2 separate regions of the Homo sapiens genome follow, and region 2 is linked to region 1. Evidence: promoter capture Hi-C in 16 types of primary human blood cells and fetal thymus (Javierre and others, 2016). All regions are on one chromosome and are shown on one strand. The core of a region is centred on a gene start or on the middle of the fragment in contact, and the rest is flanking DNA. Distances in the headings are between cores, read along the strand shown.

Region 1 (3,255 bases), core at 309-2,808:
AAAGTTAGCAGGGCATGCTGGTGAGCTATGATAGTACTACATTTCAGCCTGGGCAACACAGAGAGACCCTGTGAAAGAAAAGACAGAAAAGAAACGAGAGAGAGAGAGAACAGAAAACACACACAGAGAGAGAGAGGAGGCAAAGAAGGAAAGAAGGAAGGAGAAAGGGAAAGAAAGGAAGAAATAAATAATAAAAGAGAGAGAAGAAAGAAAGAAAGAAAGAAAAAAGGGAAAAGAAAGAGAAACAGAGAGGTGGGAGGGAGGGAAGGAAGGAAAGAAGGAAGGAGAAAGAAAGGGAAAGAAAGGAATAAGGAAAGAAATAAAAGAAAGAAGGAAAGAAAGAAAGAACAAAGAAAAGAAAGGAAAAGAAAGAAAAAGAAAGAAAGAGAAAAAGAAAGAAAGGAAAGAAAAAGAAAATCACTGATATTGTGGCTGAGCTCATGGCCACAGGAATTGAGTCTTGGCTTGGCCACTCACTATCTGTATTACCTTGAGCAAGTTATTTAATGACCCTTAGACTCTGTCCATGAATTAGGGGGTGCTGTACCTACCTTACAGGGTTTCTGTGTCAGTTAGATGAGATCCAGGCGTAAAGTTCTCTGCACGTGTCTGACACGTACCAGTGAAGACTTGTATTTGCCTTGTAGTTAACAGCAGCTGCAGTTGTAGTAAATACATTCCTATAGCTTTTTAATGCTTATGTGGATACATTTACCTTCGTTATCTCTGGGTAACACACCTGTGGGGTGGGTCAGCCTGAGGTTCATATTCCCATTTGACAGATAAGGAACCTGAGACTCGGTGAGGCAAAATGTTTGGCTCAATGTCCCTGACCTTGGTTAAGTGGAAGAGCTGGGACCCACGTACGGTGCTGCTGGCTGCCGGCTGCTGGCTTCATACCACCATGCCCACCCCACAAACACACTCCATTGTCCTGGTGTATGACAAGCTTTCTCTGCAGAGAGGGCTGAGCTTCCCCTGCCCCACAGGTGACAGCTGGAGTCCTTCTGCCAGCACCTGTCCCCAGACCAACTTCCCAGTTTGGAGAGTGGCTACCTGTTTGGGGGCAGGGGGTGTCTTACCTTATTCCAGATGCAGGGCTCACCTGCCCTGGGGGCTGTCAGTGGCTTCTAAGGCACTAGGAGGTGGCGGTGGTTGTAAGGAGGGAGATACCCGGGATCCTCTCTCTTTGCAGCCAAGAGCTTCCGGAGACAGCAGTGACCCTTCCTCCTATATGCCCGCTGCTGAGAGAGCCTCCAAGCGGGTCAAACTCCAAACTCCAGCCTCAGCTGCAGCGGGGATTAAAGGAAGCGTGAATGATCTCCCCAGGGCAGAAGAGAGAACGGGGCCCAGCCCAGGACCCTTGAACTCTGAGCAGGTGGGGAAGGTGACATGTCCCACGCTCTGCCCACACCGTCCTCCACCAGGGTCCTCACCTGCGTGGGGACCCATGGCATGGAGGGGTTGGGGAGACGCTGGAGCCCAAGGCACCATCCTGCTTCACTCACCCAGTCTTCCACTGTCCCGCCTCCACGCTGGGGACAGGCAGGCTTGGGACGAGCTGGAGGAAGGGGAGGGGAGGAAAAATGCTGGCGGCGGATGGAGGGGACAGAGGCAAAGTGCCAGGAGGGACGTCCAGCCACAGCCCTCACCGCAGTGGCAGCAACAGGAACAGCAACCATTGCTTGTGCAACCCCTTTCCATATACTCTTCAGACAGAGGCATGGCAAAGAACAGGTGTCTGCCTGAAGTCGAGAGTTCGAGACCAGCCTGACCAACATGGAGAAACCCCATCTCTACTAAAAATACAAAGTTAGCCGGGTATGGTGGTGCATGCCTGTGGTCCCAGCTACTCGGGAGGCTGAGGCAGGAGAATCACTTGAATCCGGGAGGCGGAGGTTGTGGTGAGCCGAGATTACACCATTGCACTCCAGCCTGGGCAACAAGAGCGAAAATCAGTCTCAAAAAAAGAAGAAGAAGAAGAAGAAGAGGTGTCTGAGGCCCTGAAAAACCGTCAGGAGTGACCGAGCCATGGCCAGGCGCCCACATCGGGCCCAGGACATCAGCGGGGCATAGCGAAGATTTCTGCCAGATGCTCAAAGCATCCAAAACTTTATTTACTTTTTATTTCTGAGACAGGATCTCACTCTGTCACCCAGGCTGGAGTGCAGTGGTGGCATCACAGCTTGCTGCAGGCTCATCCTCCTGGGCTCAAGTGATCCTCCCACCACAGCCTCCCGAGTAGCTGGGACTACAGGCGTGCACCACCACACCCAGCTAATTTTTTCATTTTTTTGGTAGAGAGAGAATCTTGCTATGTTGCCCAGGCTGGTCTCCAACTCCTGGGTTTAAGTGATCCTCCCACCTTGGCCTCCCAAAGTGCTGGGATTACAGGGGTCAAACACTGTGCCAGGCCAAATACCAAAACATTTTAAAAATAGTTACTAGTATTTGCAAACCAAGAGGCTTGAAACATAATTCTAGAATACTCACTTTTCTAGAACAACCTGAAGATCTGGCCTCACCAGGCCCCCATGGCCACAGGACAGCTGCTGACTGGGGAGGAGTCGTGGCCTCCCCATCTCACTCCTTCACTGGGCCTGCCAGGCTCTGGGGGGCCCTCAGCTGAGGCCCCTGTCCTGGCACCGAGTAGCCAGAAATAATAGCAGTGATGAACACGTGCCAGGCTCTAAGGGCACAACATGCCTTTACTCACTTGGTCTTTCCAACAACCCTCGAAGTTAGGTCCTGTTATCTCTATCTTACTGACGAGGTAACAGAGGTAGAGGAGATGAGTCATCGGCCCAGGATCACCCGGGTTGTAAGTGACACAGCAAGATTTCAGCCCAGGCCACCTGGCTCTAGAGTCCTGCAGGAGCAGTGGAGGGTGGCTTGACTGGATAAAGGGTGGCCTGGGTGAGCAAACACTGGGTGACTGACCAACACCAGTATGAATGGGGCCTTTGGGGGAGGGACCTGCCCTGGGGGACAGATTTACAGAAGGAACAGCTGGGATTGGAGAAGAGGGACAGACAGAAGGCCATGAATCTGTGATCTGCAGCAGAGGCCACAGCACCAGGAAAGGCAGTGGGGTGCCACCGAGGGTGCACTGCTTCGCCAACCTGGGGTCCAGTCCTGACTTCTTGGGAATGTCTGGGGAGCCTTAGCCATGTGCAGGGTGTCTACAGAAGAGGCGTGGTAGTGAGTGAAGCCGGGCAGGTGGAGCTGAGGCTGACCCGAGAGCATGTGTCCCAG
Region 2 (3,255 bases), core at 417-2,916, 240 kb after region 1:
CTGTAATCCCAGCACTTTGGGAGGCCAAGGTGGGGAGATCACTTGAGGCCAGGAGTTCGAGACCAGCCTGGCCAACATGGCAAAACCCCATCTCTACTAAAATTACAAAAATGCCAGGTGTGATGGCATGTGCCTGTAATATCAGCTACTCAGGAGGCTGAGGCAAGAGAATTGCTTGAAACGGGGGAAGGCAGAGGTTGCAGTGAGCAGAGATCATGCCGCTGCACTCCAACCTGGGAGACACAGCGAGACCATCTAAAAAAATTAATAATAATAATTTTTAAAAAGGGAAGAAAAAACCCCAGAAAACTAGAGAGCTAGGCATACGAGTTAACGCTGTATCCACCCTGGGGATTTAGTGCTTGGCAGGGACATGGCAGCCTTGGGAGGCTGGGTTGCAACTCCAAGCAGGTACAGGAGACAAAGTCTTGTGCCTGGGAGTGGAAACTTCCACATCAGCTTGGGACTCTTAAAAGTGCTGTATCCTCAGTGAAAATGTGCATGGTGGTAAATTTTATGTGTCACATTGACTAGCCACGGGGTGCCCAGATTAAACATTATTTCTAGATGTGTCTGTGAGAATGTTTCTGGATGAGATTAACATTTCAGTGGATGGACTCAGTAGAGAACATTGCCCACTTCAATGTGGGTGGAAATCATTCAATCTCAATGGAACAAAAGGGTTATCTGTGGTGGAGGAAGGAGGTGGAAGAAGGAGGAAATTTCCCCTTTTGCTTCCTGCCTGCCTTCTTGAGCTGGAACACCTCATCTCATCTTGTCCAGCCTCTGGACTGGGATTTACACCATTGGCTACCCTGGTTCTTAAGCTTTCAGACTTGGACCAAATTACACCCCAAGTTTCCCTGGATCTCCAGCTTGCAGAGAGCAGACTTGTGAGACTTCAGAGCCTCTATAATTGCATGAGCCAATTCCTCAGGATAAATCAATCTCTTTCTCTCATGCTGATTCTACTTCTTTGGAGAACCCTAACTAATACATGGTGAAACAAACAAACAAAAAAAGATCACCTTTAAGCCCAGAGAAACACGGAAGCTTGTGTGACTTGACCTGAATTCTGGGTCAAGGCAAAAAAAATACTCCCATGATAATTAATAACCAAGGCCTGTTCTCAAGTGGTTTTGATGTCTGAACATACATTACTTTTATGGCCCTGGAATACCAAAAATAAGAAATAACATAGAAAGAGAGGAGCCTCAGAGAGGCAAATATAAAAGTGATCTAGAGGTAAGTTCACTAAGCCCAGACCTCACAGAGTTCCCACAGATTATGTTCCCATTGCAGATGAGTTTATAATCCAAAATTATAAAACATGTTATAAATTACAAAGCACTAGGAGACAGAAGAAAGTGCAGGATTAGACTCCTATAAATTTCATATAATAAAATAATTGGATGGAGATTATTAATAAAACTTTATGCTTAACTTTTTAGAAAGAAGCAGTGCCTTTTGCTTCCAATTAAGATGACATAACAGAAACTGGGTATACTCTTTTCCCTGAAACAACAACAAACAAGATAAAATATATAAAACAACAGTTTTGGCCGGGCATGGTGGCTCACACCTCTAATCCCAGCACTTTGGGAGGCTGAGGCGGGCAGATCACTTGAGGTCAGGAGTTCGAGACCAGCCTGGTGAAACCTCGTCTCTATTAAAAATACAAAAAATTAGCCATGTATGGTGACTTTGCCTGCAGTCCCAGCTACTTGGGAGGCTGAGGCAGGAGAATTGCTTAAACCCGGGAGACGGAGGCTGCAGTGAGCTGAGATTGCGCCACTGCACTCCAGCCTGGGCGACAGAGAGAGACTTTGTCCCAAAACAACAACAACAACAACAACAACGACAACAACAACAACAACAACAACAGTATTTAAGACATTGGACATCAGATAACAAAGGGCAGGGATATATGAGAGAAGGGAAACAAACCAGGTGAGCTCTATGATTGCCCCATATTACTGCCTAGAGGAAGTTTCCAAATTGCAGTGCAGAGAGGTGGACTTCAAACTGAGGCTGGTGTTCCCCCTGAGATGAGGAGACAGAGCAGGGAGTCCAGGGAGGCCAAGGAAGACAGAGTTTGTAGGGCAGGTACTGGAGAGGAGAGAGCCGCACAGAGATCAAGATCTGCAGAGATGTCCCTCAAGTCTTCAGTGGAGTACAGATCATGACACGCATGTTAGAAAAAGACCTGACCAAAAGGATTAGAGGGCCACATATGGCCAGGAGTAATTTTTGCCCATTACCCTAGAATGCAAAGCTTCATAATTCACACAGCATCTATCAGGTAGGATACTCAGAAGTGTTTTACCTCCGTGGTGGGACCAAAATAGTCCTAGACTAAACCCAACTCTAGTCCAGCCAAACAAACTTTAAAAACAAACTTTGGGCCAGGTGCGGTGGCTCATGCCTATAATCCCAGCACTTTGGGAGGCCAAGGCAGGTGGATCACCTGAGGTTAGGAGTTCGAGATCAGCCTGGCTAACATGGTGAAACCCCATTTCTACTAAAAATACAAAAAATTAGCCGGGCATGGTGGCACGCACTTGTAACCCCAGCTATTCAAGAGGCAGAGGCAGGAGAATCTCTTGAACCCGGGAGGCGGCGGTTGCAGTGAGCTGAGATCATGCCATTGTACTCCAGCTTGGTTAACAAGAGTGAAACTCCATCTCAAACCAAAAACAAAACAAAACAAAACAAAAAACACTTTGGCCAGGCGCAGTGACTCCCGCCTGTAATCTCAGCACTTTGGGAGGCTGAGGTAGGAGGATCACTAGAACTCAGAAGTTTGAGGCCAGCCTACGCAACATGGTAAAACCCCTGTCTCTACAAAAAACCTAAAAATTACCTGGATGTGGCAGCATGTGCCTATAGTCCCAGCTACTCGGGAGACTAAGGTGGGAGGATTGCTTGAGCCCAGGAGTTCGAGACTGAAAGTGAACTGTGTTGGCGCCACTGCATTCCAGTCTGGGTGACAAGAGTGAGATCCTGTATCAAAAGAAAAAAAAATAATAATAAAAGGCCAGGTGCAGTGGCTCATGCCTGTAATCCCAGCACTTTGGGAGGCTGAGGTGGGAGGATCACTTGAACTCAAAAGTTTGAGACCAGCCGGGACAACATGGTAGAGAAAACCCATCTCTACAAAAAAAAAAAAAAAAAAAAAAAAAAAATTAGCCCGGTGTGATGGTGCATGAATGTAGTCCCAGCTACTTGGGAGACTGAGGTAGGAGGATCACTTGA

Evidence for each region. The method cuts DNA at HindIII sites, captures the fragments that hold promoters and counts their contacts. A CHiCAGO score of 5 or more calls a contact.
Region 2: a fragment that was not itself captured here is called in contact with the fragment with the promoter of SLC5A11 in region 1 in 1 of 17 cell types (endothelial precursors); the score reaches 5.2 in endothelial precursors.

The regions. Positions count from the first base shown.
Region 1 is chr16:24,844,266-24,847,520 of GRCh38, reverse strand. It overlaps SLC5A11 (solute carrier family 5 member 11), which reads right to left and starts at 1,558. Exons shown (of 17, transcript NM_001352248.3): 1 at 1,509-1,558; 2 at 1,083-1,289. The HindIII fragment of the contact is 4,984 bases long and covers 952-3,255 here.
Region 2 is chr16:24,602,209-24,605,463 of GRCh38, reverse strand. No RefSeq gene overlaps it. Among named protein-coding and RNA genes, the nearest start is that of RBBP6, 64 kb to the right of the region's middle. The HindIII fragment of the contact is 1,222 bases long and covers 1,056-2,277 here.